Regions from separate parts of the Homo sapiens genome. Here region 2 is linked to region 1. Evidence: promoter capture Hi-C in 16 types of primary human blood cells and fetal thymus (Javierre and others, 2016). All regions are on one chromosome and are shown on one strand. The core of a region is centred on a gene start or on the middle of the fragment in contact, and the rest is flanking DNA. Distances in the headings are between cores, read along the strand shown.

Region 1 (6,950 bases), core at 3,263-5,762:
TCTAGAAATGGAAAAGATTTTGACTTTTTGCAAGGATATTTCTCATTTCCCATTTTTATTGAAAAGGCCTAAATGTTCTGATTTTTAAAAAAATATTATTTCTCCAGCACCTCCACGTCTCAGAATCTCCTCACCTGCAGGCTTCCTGGGGAAGCACCTGCACTCTCACCCACTGACACCCACTCACATCCTCCACCTGCACCTTAATTCACAGCAATTGGTTTTCATCTCTTGCACTTGGCTAAAACCACTTTCTCATTTCAGATCTTCACATGGCTAGACCAGGAGCCTCTTACTCTCTGCATTTCATTTCTTCTCTTTGGATCTCATTCCTGAAGTTTTCTCATGCATTACTACTCCTTTGTGATTCTCCCTTCTTCTCTGATAACTTTTCAGTTGCCTTTCTTCTGTTCCTTCAGCTGAATTTCTTAAATTTTATTCTTAGCTACTTTCGCTTCTCATTTTACAATTTATCTTTGCACTAACTCATCCATTAACTCAAATTCAACTAAAACCAGCTCTGTGGATATGCCAGACTCCTAAGTTCCATCGCTAACCTTGACCAAGCTCTTGAGCTTTAAGAACAGTTGTCAGAGAGCACCATGGATTTCTTACTATCTCAGGTTCTCACTGATTACAAGGAAATACTCCCCTGCGTTGTGTGGGTTCCTGTTGGCATTTGCTCCTCAAGACTTAACTTTGGCTACTTGACATCGTAATCTAAGTGTTGGGATAAGATGTTTTGACCTTATCTTCTTATCCTTAAAGGATTTTGCAAGCATGTGTTTCAAGAACTGAACTATGTGACCGCAACTCTGTTAAATCCTGCTGTGAACTGAATGTTTCTGCCAATTCCGCCAAATTCATGTGCTGGAATCCTAACCCCCAATGTGATGGTATTAGGAGGTAGGGCCGTTGCGGGTGGTTAGGTCATGAGGGATCTGGGATTAGTACCTTTATAAAAAGACACTAGAGAGCTTGCTTTATCTTTCTCTTTCTCTGCTCTTCACCATGAGAGGATGCGATGAGAAGAGGGCCCTCACCAGACACAGGATCTGCCAGCACCTTGATCTTAAACTTCCAGACTCCGGGACTGGGAGAAATAGATGTTTGTTATTTAAGCCATGCAGCCTATGGCAATTTGTTATGGCAGCCTGAACTGACTAGGACAGGTCCTTATCTCTGAATGGGAACAGAGAACAAGATAAACTCTAAGGACAGGCCCTTGTCAGTTTGTAAAAATAGACAAGCCAAAAAGCATTATTTTTATTTTGCAGACAGAGGTTACAAGCCTTGTTTAAATTATTTTAAATACCATTGGTTTAATTTCAGTCCTTTAGAAATGCACAGTCCAGAAATGAAAGTGAGAACTGTGTGACTGTAAAACTGTAAAAATTGTTTTCATGCATGGCTTATGAGCACAATCAGAGTCCAAATGGCTACACTTTAATATATACTTTATATTAGCTATTAAGGAATATTGTTCTACAATGGTTAAGTATATCTAAAAGACTGCAGAATAGTCGTTAATAATTTCAACAAATTAATATTTAGGAAGTGTTCATTATGTGCTGTGATAAGGCACTGTGATAAGTGTTTCACATGCTTATTTGATCCTCAAAAAAACTCGATAACGTGGTAGATTATTAACCTGTTTTATGCATGAAAAAGTAAAGCTAGAAAAGGTAAGTAATCTACCTGCGGTCACGGAAAACACTATAATTCATGTTGACCAGACCAATATAAAATATTTAGAAAATATATTCCACGTTTTACTTAATATTATAGTGTTTGATTCACCAAATCATATAATTGTGCATATCCTTATGGAAGAGGAAAGAAAGGAGAAAAAGGATCTATTAAATCTCATTTCTAAAAAACTAGCCAATAGAAAATGTTCTGTCTATCCATGATAAGGATAATTTAAAATTATTACATTGTAATTTTCTATTTAGTTTTAGTAGCCTGGGAAAAAAAGTCTTAAAATGATTGATTTTTTTAACTTATATAATTTTAATTTGGTGCAAGAAATATGGATTATTAGGTACTCAAGAGTCAACATTCACTGAACTACATGTCAAATAATCCCATGGCCGTATAAATTATAAATAAAAGATACCTAAATATGATTAAGTATATAGGTTTTTAAAAGTGAGACTTTTTAGCTTATTTTTTAATTGTTAAAAAACATTATACATATAAAAGATGGCATAAGATATTTATGCATAACTGAAGAATCATTCAATCAAAAATATGTATTAGAAGCTTATTATAGGGGATTCCACATTTAGCACTGAAAATGTAAAGATCCTGGATGTTGTCATTCCTAACCTTGGAAGAAAAAGGTATTCAAACTGACAATCAATGACTTTTATTAGATCCATCAGAGAAATTAGGCTGCAGGGCAAATGTTACCCTGGATTAGAGGTGAATTCAGAGTCACAGTCCAGATCTGCTAACCTTGACCAGAAGTAACCAGAGCCGTAAACTGTAAGAACACTTAAATGGTCATTTTTGATGAATCGCTGAGGCTGAACATGGACTCCCATGAAAGTGGAAAACTCCTGGGAACTTCAGTCTTTTGGGGCCCCTACGCTTCTGTGGATTTTACCAACAGGCACTCTACCAGGTTCTCATGGCAAAGATCTGAGACAAACCTCCTAGTGGCTCTGACTAGGGGACAGGAAGAGTAATGATCATGAAATACACCCAGAACCTTTTCCATTTAAAAAGCATACTCTCCACGGAAAAACATTTTGGCAGAGTTCAACAAAAGCAGGGGGAAGAGCATTCCTCCCATCCCAAACCTCTCTAACCTTCTCTTCTCACCTAAAGGAAAAAGGATTTAATCAACATGGGTCAGGGCTTCAAAGAAATAAAATTGGGAATGGCACAGCCAGAAAGAGGATGGAGAGGGGAAAACCAAAAGCTGTACCACTAGAGAAACACCTGTGAAGATCACAGCCCCAAGACACAGGCCCACCAAACCACTGATATTTAATTAGAAGCTACTCACTTTACAAAGTTGAAGCAAAACACCCACTAACCTAGCATTCTAGATCCAGCAAAATTATCCTTGAAACATGAGAAATAAAGACTTTTTCAAACAAAAATCTGAAGGAATTCATGACCTGCAGATCTGTCTTGCAAGCAATGCCCAATAAAAGAAGTTATTTGGGCAGAAGAAAATTGAAACAGAACAGAAACTTAGATCTGCCTAAATAAATGAATACTGAAGGAATAAGTGAAGATGAAGTAAAATATCTTATTTTTTAAATATCAATTGATCTAAAAGTATGACTTTAATCATAACAATGTATTGCATGGTTATAGCATATGGATAACTAAAATGAATGACAGCAATGTCATGAGGGATCAGAGGGGAAAATTGGGAACTTTGTTCTAAGATACCTACACTACACACGAAGCAGTATAGTGTTATTTAAAGGTGGACTTAGATTAGTTTTGAAATGTATATTGTAAGTCTAATGCAACCACTGAAAAAAAAATTAAAGTATAATTGAAGTGCTAAGAGGAGATAAAATAGAATCCTATATAAAATGCTCAGTCAAAACCAGAGAAAGCAGGAAAATAGGTGAAAAAAAGAAACAAAGAAGAAGGGCAACAAATAGAAAACAATAACCAATATGTTAAATATTAACCCAACTATATCAGTACTCACTTTAAATGCAATGCTGGTCTAAACATACCAGTATTCTCACAATGGATATTAAAATAAGTCCCAACTGTAAGTTGTCTACAAGAAAGCCCTTTTAAGTATAAAGATTAGGATAGGTTAAAAGAGAAGGGATGGAGAAAGATAAATGAAGCAAACAGTAATTAAAAGAAAACTTGAGTGGCTATGTTAATTTCAAACAGAGAAGACTTCAGAAAAAAGATTATCAAGGATAAAGAGAAGCAATTACATAATTATGAAAGGGTATATTCCCCAAGAAGACATGATAAAAATATTTTGTACTAAGAAAATGAAAATACTAAATAAAATTTGTGGGATTCTACAAAAGAAATACTTAAAGGAAAATTTATAGCATTAAATGCATATATTAGGAAAAGAAGGCCAGTCACAGTGGCTCATGCCTATAATCCCAGCACTTTGGAAGACTGAGGCAGGCAGAACACTTGAGCCCAGGAGTTTGAGATCAGCTTGGGCAACATGGTGAAACCCCGTATTAACAAAAAAAAAAAAAAAAAAAAAAAAAAAAAATGAAAATTAGCTGGTCACAGTGGCGTGCGCCTGTAGTCCCAGCTACTCAGGAGGCTGAGGTGGGAGGATCTCTTGAGCCGTGGAGGTGACTGCAGTGAGCCAAGATTGCGTCACTGCACTCCAGCCTGGGCAGAGTAAGGCCCTGTCTCAAAAAAAAGAAAAGAAATAGAAAGATGAGTTATTAATACTTAAAGCAACCAGAAGAAAAAAAACTATAAAAATTAGAACAGAAATCAATGAAACCGAAAACACAAAACAATAGAGAAAATTCATTAGAACTAAACCTGGTTTTTTTTTTTTTTGAAAAGACCAATAAAATTGGTAATCCTTTAGGCTCCAAGACTTAACTGAAAATTCATTTCTTCCCACAAGCATTCATTGAGTGCCTACTATGTGCTAGGCATCAATCTAAAGTGCAACAGTGAATTAAAATAAATTCGTTGCCTTTGTGGAGTGTACATTTCAATGGGGGAAGACACATATGGAAAATAAAGCAGAAAAATAAAGCAGGAGGTATGATGGGGGTGGGGTTGGATGATCTTATTTTACAAAATGTGATCAGAGAAGGCCTCTCCAGTAAGGTGATGTTTTAATAAAAAAGAAAGTGAGTGAGTTGTCAAGATCTATCCAGCAAAAGAGACAGCAAGGGCAAAGTCGCTGTGGAGGTGCTCAGCAGGTTTGAGCAACAAGCAAGGTCAGTGTGGCTAAAATAGAGCAAGCCAAGTAAATGGCAACAAGTTTGAGAGGGGTGGATCATGTAAGTATGGAGTTTGGCTGTCATATGAAGGGAGATGGGAAGCCATTGGAAGGATCTGAGCAGAAGAGAAACATGATCTGACTTGTGTTTTAAGAGGATCACTCTGAGTACTGTGTGGAGAAAAGAATAGGTTATGAGGGGTCAAGGGTGATAGAAGGAAGACCAGTCAGTGGAAACTGCATTAAGTCAGATAAGATAAGCTGGCTTAGACTAGGGTGACAGTGGTGCAAATGGTATGTGGTCTGAGTCTGGATGTATTATGAAGGAAGAAGCAACGGGACTTTCTGATGAATTAAACATGAAATACGTAAGAGATTATATAGTGTGGGCATTTGTCCCCTCCAAATCTCATGTCGAAATGTGATCCCCAGTGTTGGAAGAAGTGGGGCCTAGTGGAAGGTATTTGGATCATGGGGGTGGATTCTTCATCAATGGCTTGGTGCCCTCCCTATGGTAATGAGCGCATGTGAGATCCCATTGTTAAAGAGACAGGAACCTCCCCCAACTTTCTCTGGCTCCCTCTCTTTCCTGCTCCCGCTTCACCCTCTGCCATGAGCTAAAGCCTCCTGAGGCCTCAATCTCAGGTATTCCTTTACGGTAATGCAAAGTGGACCAACACAAAAGAGTCAAACATAACAAGATTTTAGGCCAGAACAAACAGAACAAAGAATTTACCAATATAAGTGAACTAACTTGCTTTAGAATTTAAAAAGTATTATATACATAAAGTAGTTCATTTTTTACCAGAGGACAGGTATTCAATAGATTAAAATCTCATTCCATTCTATCATGACATAAGGTATTTCATGATTTTTTACCAGATTTTAATTCTGCAACACTCACTAGTCAGATATCACTTTGCAACACTGGAAGTTTTCAATCAGAAAAGGTTTTATTATAAGAAACAATGACATCAGGTAAAAATGCAAAAAATTGTGCAATTATGGCAAAATGTTTAAAAATATCTACACATTTGCCCCCACAGGACTACAGTACTTACTACATACCTGAGCACTGAACATTGAATTCCATTTTAAACTGCTTTACATAGGGAATCTGATTCCTTCATGATCACATCCATTTGTTCTCATGACCAATAAAATCAGCTTGATGCTTAAGCATCAACTTTGTAGAACAGAAAACAAAGATGGAAAATAAAGAATACAATTTCTACTTTCCTATAACATAGTTATACCCAGTCCAGTTTTCAATGTGTGACAAATATATAGGAAAGTGCTACATACATTCTTCAAATGCAAAAACAAAGTTAAAGTGGAACTGGCATTATGTTAGACCTACATTTTAATTCTGTAGTACCCATTGTGCCTTTTACTTAAGGTCTTACCACACTATGAAAATGCACCTTAAATATCTAAATATAAACCCACACATGTCACTAATCTTACTTTTCTAGGACCTCTTCTGAATCCATTTTAACAGTGGCAAAATATCCCAGCTATATAATTTAAACAAATAGTTCTTCATACAAAATTCAATATATATTCTACTCCCATAACAAATCCTAAGCCTTGCTTTTGACACACTTAACTTAGATCGTACCCTCCATACAAATTGTCATAGCCAAAAGATCAACTGTTGTGCAGGCTAAAAGAATAAATCTACTGTTGAATTAGCCACAGTATGTCATTCTCTTATATAACATACAGCCCATGTAAATTGCTAACTCAATGTTCTATGTCATGTTTTCAAGTAATACATTTTTCTAAATACACAAGATTGTCAAAAAGCGGCAGGAAATCTTATTCAACAAAGCTTTCAAAAATAAATTACATGAACATCTCTTGCAAAAAAATTGTTTTTTCTCTCTCCTCAGCAATGCAAAACTGTAAAGAATGATTTCTAAAATACACAGTAATAACTCCAAAACATCATGATGATAAAAACAAAAACAAAACAGAAGATAAAACTGGGGAGGTAAAAATGTTGACAAAGTTTATACAGAGATTA
Region 2 (6,950 bases), core at 2,739-5,238, 2.0 Mb before region 1:
TAATTCCTGATGGTTTCTCAGTTGTGATAAAGAAATAATTGATGATCACTTCTTAAATCTATTAGTTCACAGAGCTTGTGGAGTGATATTGTCATTTCTTTTTCATTTAGTAGTTGGAATGTTTCCATAAAAAATTTACTTCAGTTATTTTGTTATTTGCATCATAATTCATACAGGAAAGACAGTATAAATATTCCTGATTCTTTCCCTTTGTTTACCAGTTTTCAGAATAAGAGTTGGTTTCCTTCTGTCATTAAAAATGAACAGCGATACCTTTTTGGCTTGCATGTTTGGTTGATTGGTCGTGTCTGATATGATTACTTAAATGTATCTGTCCTTCATCCAATTACAGTTACCTTTATTTATGTTTTAAATCATCCTATCTTTGGCCAGTAGGAAGGTTTTCAAGGTGGATCCTGAGTCCTTTTGATATGACCCTAATAGCCTTTTGATTGCTTTGCTGCTTCCTGATGTAAGATGTTGCAGGCTTATCTTGTACATTTCCTGCTCCAGACCCAAGATCATCCATTGTTCTATGGAGTCAGTGTTTCTTTTAATGGGAAATGGTTGGTAGAGATCACAGTGTGAGCGCAAGGGGGTGCTTCTTCCTCCTGGGTAGCTTGTCTCTAGGCCTTTTCAATGGAGCACGTAGGAGAGATGTGTTTTTAAAGATTAACCATACTGTTAATCATACTGAGGCCTCCAACTGAAATTCAGAACTACAGGATGTTTATATAGCCTGATTAAGCTTTCATATTTCTATCTCATGTCAAAAATTTCAGCTTCAAAGGTACCATCATAATTACTTCAACTTGGTGTATCCCATAATACCAATATTGCCACCAACAATTTGGTTACGGAATGCAGTCTACAAAAGAGTTTTTTTGTACTTTAGTCCTGAGAATACATCCCACTAAGTATATACAAATTAAGTTTTAAAGTCACTTGGGATAGCTCCTCTGGGTGATATGCCACAATTGGAAAACATTTAGGTTCATTTAGTTTCATTTTACTTTCAAGGATTGCTTTTTAAAAACAGAATTTTGCTTTATAATGTAACATATTTACATGACTTCAAAGTCATGTCTTCACGCCAGGCGTGGTGGCTCACGCCTGTAATCCAAGCAGTTTGGGAGGCTGAGGTGGGCGGATCACTTGAGGTCAGGAGTTCGAGACCAGCCTGGCCAATACAGTGAAACCCCGTCTCTACTAAAAATATAAATATTTGTCAGGCATGGTGGCGCATGCCTGTAATCGCAGTTACTCAGGAGTCTGAGGGAGAAGAATTGCTTGAACCCAGGAGATGGAGGTTGCAGTGAGCCAAGATTGCACCATTGTACTCCAGCCTGGGCAAAAGAGTAAGACTCTGTCACACACACACACACACACATACACACACACACACACACACACACCAAAAAACAAAGTCATGTCTTCTTTGTTCCTTATACCCCTCCTCTTCCCTCCTTGCCCATATAGTCATTTTAAATGTTAATCTACTTGTAAAATAATAATTAGTAAATATATATGTGTATACACATGTATACACACATATTCCTCTTAGAAAAATGATATTTACATATTACATATCCTTTTCCCACTCAATATTCTGTAGTGTACAGAGATATTTCTCAATTCCTTTTTATGCATGCATAGTTTTACATTGTATGGATAAACCATAGTTTATTCAACCAGCCTTCTATTGGTAGACACTTGAGTTTTATGTCAGCTCAAAGAAAATTTAAATTCTAACATTGGTATTTTGGAGAGAAATTCTATTTGAGAATGGCTGTTACAGTAAGAGAGACTCAATCTCATGTTCAGGTTTATCATATCTGGTTTCCTGTAAGTCTGAATGACCATTCAATATGTAGGTGTTTAAAATAGCACCACATAGCCAGGCGTGGTGGCTCACAACTGTAAACCCAGCACTTTAGGAGGCCGAGGCTGGAAGATCACTTGAGGCCCGGAGTTGGAAACAAGTGCTGGGAACATAGCAAGAACCTGTTTCTACAAAAAAAATAAAATAAAATAGTACCATGCACATGTCATACTGATTTTAACCTTTTTGTATGTGACAAAAATAGGATGGTAGCAAGTAGGCTGAGGAAGCTTTTTTTTTTTTTTTTTATGAGACAGGGTCTCACTGTGGCCCAGGCTAGAGTGCAGTGTCTCAATCATGGCTCACTGCAGCCTCAACCTCACTGGGCTCAAGCGATCATCCTGAGTAGCTGGGACTACTGGCATGAGCCACAGTGCCTGGCTTGAGGAAGCATTTTAAAAAATTACTGTCATTAGTGTGGGATGGTGAAGTATGCAAAGTATAAAATAATAGAGCAGTAATTCTGTTATAGGAAAGGGGTCCCAATCCAGACCCCAAGAGAGGGTTCTTGGATCTCGAGCAAGAAAGAATTCAGGGCAAAGTGTAAGCAAGTTTGTTAAGAAAGTAAAGGAAAAAAAAAAAGAAAGTAAAGGAAGAAAAGAATGGCTACTCCATAGACAAAGCAGCCCTGAGTGCTGCTGGTTGCCCATTTTTATGGTTATTTCTTGATGATATGCTAAACAGGTGGATTATTCATGCCTCCCCTTTTAAGACCATATAGGGTAACTTCCTGACATTGCCATGGCATTCGTAAACTGTCATGGCGCTGATAGGAGTATAGTAGTAAGGACTACCAGAGGTCTCTTTCATGGCCATCTTGGTTTTGGTGGGATTTAGCCGGCTTATTTACTGCAACCTGTTTTATCAACAAGGTCTTTATGACCTGTATCTTGTGCCGACTTCCTATCTCATTCTGCGACTTAGAATGCTTTAACGGCCTGGGAATGCAGCCCAGTAGGTTTCAGCCTCATTTTACTCAGCTCCTATTTAAGATGGAGTTGCTCCGGTTCACATGCCTCTTGACAGTTCCCTTAGAGGCAAAATCTTTTCAATAAAAAGAATAAATTAATACTGTAAAGTGCTTTAAAACAATGTTTGGCACATGTTAAACACCACATGTTCTTGCTGTTATTATTTGAAAAAAATTCCAGGTAAGATTCCTAATTTAGCAGGTCACTAATGGAACTTGTAACAATTCTTAAACAACATTACTTTTAAAAATTACGTAAAAAGCATGTAAGCCTTTGGAAACAAACTTGTTTCCTTATGATCATATTATTTAACTTCTGGTGACTATATTCATTTGAGCATGTTTATTTTGAAGTCATCACCTTCATATAATCAGTTCAACTTTAGTCACTATTTAATGATCAACTCTACTGTGCTGTAGATGGAATACTAGGCCTGGGGGAGCTTAGAGGAAAAGACAGTGGGGGATGGGAGTTCAAATAATTATAAGCAGTAATAAAGTAAATTAACAAAACCATAAAAATTAAACTCCACAGAGTAGCATTTGAACTTGATGAGTTTACGGATAGGTAAAACTATACTGCTTTTAAAATGTGTGTGGACTCCAAAGTATCCTCACCATCACAAAGTGTATTCGGTGAACGATGTTCAGTCCCCAAATTTGGAAGTTAGGGCGGCAACTTCTGCTTGAAATAAGACAAAAGTAAAAATCCACCTCAGTGCAACGCAGAAGACACGAAGAGTCAGGTTTTCTACCCACCCCGTCCTAACATCCTCTGAGCGCTTTAACGCTCTCGCTCAAGGAGGCGCGGGCTGCTGCGATGGAGATGGGCGTCCGGCGCCGGCACGTGCCGTCGGTCTTTCCGGCCCTGGTGAGGGAGCTGGCGGACTCGCGCGAACGTTCGCGGGAGAACGCCAGGAAGGGCAGATGGTTCCTCGACTCTGAGCCCCTCCCTGCTGCGCTCGCCGGGTCGAGGCCGCTCGCCGGGCTGAAGCCGCTCCGAGCGTCGGGCCCCGCGCCCTGGCCCTCCTGGGTGTAGTCCCGGTCCTGCCTCTGCGGGGCCCGAGCCCGCCCACGGCGCCGGCTGGCCAAGGTGTCCCAGCTGCTCCTTGGCGCCCCCTGGCCCAGCTCCCGCGCCCGAGGTTTCCGGTGAGCGGCAGTAGCCGGTTATGACGACTCCCTCCTCTGGAACAGCCGCCGTCTCCTCCGCCTCCTCCTCGGTAGTTCACGGCTGCCCCGGCTCCAGGTGGGACTCCCCCGCAATCTGCGGAGCCTTCCCCCGCTCTCCTTCCCGCCGCCGCAGCGCTCTGCGCTGTTCTTGCCCGGGTGGTAGCCGCTCCCGGCGCGGCTTCCCGGAGGGCTATAGCCTACGCACGCACTCCGCCCGCGCCTTCCCATTCCCTGCGGGCCGGGAGGCGGGCGTCGGAAGCCGATCCTGGCCCTCCCCGGCCCCGGGCGCCCGGCCCCTTCCCAGCGCCCGGAGCGCAGGCGGGCCCCGGGCCCTAGCCGCGTTGACCAGGTTTCCAGCCGGGGCGGAGCCGCTCCCCGGGGCCCCTCCCAGGCGCGCTGGGGACCCGGGGCGCCGCGGTGCACGGTGGCGGGCGGCCCCGGGAGATCACCGACCCCGAAGCAATCCCTGGCGGCGCCCGGGGTCCGGAACCCCAGCGCGGCGTCTCAGCCGCGGCGGGGTGCTCGCCACTGACCCCTCAGCCCTTGGCCGGGACTGACGTTCAAGCGGACAGCTGGGCTCTGCCGGGACTGACGTTCAAGGGGCAGCCGAGCACTTCCTGAGCCCTGCCTGGCACCCGCCGAGAGACTTTTTGGCACAAGTAGGGGCCAGCCGTTGAGGTGTCATTCGGGGTCTCACGTGTTGAACTTTCCATTTGCCCACTGCCGTCTTTAAACTTTTCCAAGCTCTCTCTCTCTGCGACATTGCCCCATTTCGCCCGCTGTGTCAACCCCAGGTTTTGCCTCCTATCCATCATCTTTCAGATGTTTCCCTTTTTTCCTTCCTCATTAGGCCTGTGGAAATCGAATCAAGGGTTTCTGGAGTGGAGTGATTCCAGCTGCTTTGAGCTGAAGGAAAAGTAGCCTGGCCAGTAAAGCGTCCGTGTGCTGGAGGAGTGCAGCCACCCATCCCGGCGGGCCTTGCAGGACGACCGACACCAGGAAGGCTTTGTGCCAGGCCCAGCAGCCACCCCCAGCCGCCTTATGCAAGTGGGTACATGCCCTCGCCAGACGCCAGCTTTCTGATCTGCGTCTTTAGATTTTTTCCATCGCCTAAGCGTTACTTCTCCACTGATCGGTGAGTTTAGTGATGGCCAGAGCTCACTGGAGGACAATGGACTTGGATAACCAAAGGTCAGGGCTTGGTCATAACAATGACTTTATTACCGGGAAGGACGAGTCAAAAAATAGGAAGGCCTGGGAACCCTCAGGCTCGCCACTCTAGGTGGGTAGCCCTGTGATTCAGCCAGTGGGATTACTGCTGTGAGAATGGGAAAGTTGTTTGCTTCTGGGAATGTTTGATCCACTAAGTATCCTGTTGGCCAGTTCCAGTGGATGCCTGTAGAAAGTGGGCCACCTCCTCCCGTTCCCCATTGGAATCTGGTCCGAGTTGCTGTGTTGGGGGTGGTGCCTGTGAACTCGAGTATAGCAGTGTGGTATTCATTAAGGAAAAGAAAGCGCACCACCGGCCAGGCCTTCTGGCTGAGAGTTATCACGTTACATTATTTTCTTTCTTAATATTTCCTTTAATTCACAACATCATCTGAATGATCAGGTTTACTTTAGCATCCTTTTAAGGTAATATGTTTCATTTCTGACAGGTTTTAGAGACCTGAAACATCACAGAAGCTTCTGAGTGGTTCTGAAGATTCAAGAGGTATATATTTTTATTACAAGTAGAGTCATTGTTACTATTAATATGTGTTTTTAAATTTTTATAAAACTGCTGTCAACTCATTCTTGGATAAAAGCTCCAAGTGAAAATGTTATTGTAATTCAGATCAGATTTACAGCAGATAACACCATACTCTTGAGGGCCGCCAAAGTGAAAAACCACAATACTTAACTACTCCAAGGGGGGAAAATGGGGGAAAAAGGATTCCTTTTTGGTGTCCCCACTGTTCACTTAGAATTCCATGGCCTTGGAACTTGAGGTTTGATGGAACATAGCAGTCAATTTCCTTTTCTTCTTTCTTTCTTTGTTTTTTTTTTTTTTTGAGACAGAGTCTCCCTCGCATTACCCAGGCTGGAGTGCAGTGGCGAGATCACGACTCACTGCATCCTTGACTTCCCAGGCTAAAGTGATCCTCCCACTTCAGCTGGGACTACAGCTGATTTTTTGTATTCTTAGCAGAGACCGGGTTTCATCACGTTGCCCAAGCTGGTCTCGAACTCAGGGACTCAAGCAATCTGCCAGTCTTGGCCTCCCAAAGTGCTACTATTACAGGCCTGCAGTCTGTTTCTAAAGGTTCCATCTTCACAGCCCATAATCAATGAAGACTGATTTCGAAAGTTGGGTTTTCCGGTATGACCCAGGAAACAGCAGTCCTAGCTGATGAACATCCAGTGTGTATTAAGACTCTGTCATCCAGTGGAAAGAGCACTTAAAAAAAAAAAAAGAACAAAGATCCCACTAAAGTGACCTGAGAATGGCAGGATCATTGTCTGGGATATATAGGAGAAATCTGGTCCAAGAGATTTAACACTTACTGGGTGAATTAGAAATGCAGTGAGGTTTCTGACCATTATCACTGTTCACAATGTAAAGGCATGATGGGAGAGCTTAAGGGCACAGTCTTTGAGGCAGACTGCTTAGTGTCCTGGAGTTTCTAAGTCTTAGCTATTATAGCTGATTATTATACCTACTAGCATGTAAGCTTCACAAGGGCAATGAGTTTAGTTCGTGACTGCACCTTCATTGCTGTATCCTGAGTACAGAAGCGCTCCTGGAACATTGTCTGTGCTCATACCTTGATTATGATTATAATTTTTTATTCAGCAGACACACACTTGCTCAGAGCCATCCCACTCCCTTTGCTCTCTCACAGATACTTTTCCCCTCCTCATCATTCAGATCTCAGCTTTAATGTT

The links. Contacts are between HindIII fragments. The CHiCAGO score rates a contact against its expected background, and 5 or more counts as called.
Region 2: a contact is called between the fragment with the promoter of EOGT here and a fragment that was not itself captured in region 1, in 1 of 17 cell types (erythroblasts). The highest score is 6.1, in erythroblasts.

The regions. Positions count from the first base shown.
Region 1 is chr3:67,010,116-67,017,065 of GRCh38, reverse strand. It overlaps KBTBD8 (kelch repeat and BTB domain containing 8), which reads right to left. Exons shown (of 4, transcript NM_032505.3): 4 at 5,856-6,950. Among named protein-coding and RNA genes, the nearest start is that of KBTBD8, 15 kb to the right of the region's middle. The HindIII fragment of the contact is 4,490 bases long and covers 2,268-6,757 here.
Region 2 is chr3:69,010,722-69,017,671 of GRCh38, reverse strand. EOGT (EGF domain specific O-linked N-acetylglucosamine transferase) reads left to right here and starts at 3,988. Exons shown (of 18, transcript NM_001278689.2): 1 at 3,988-4,098; 2 at 4,873-5,157; 3 at 5,681-5,736. EOGT-DT (EOGT divergent transcript) reads right to left here and starts at 4,552. Exons shown (of 1, transcript NR_185971.1): 1 at 1-4,552. RefSeq lists silencers at 3,761-4,060, 4,121-4,670. The HindIII fragment of the contact is 3,596 bases long and covers 2,115-5,710 here.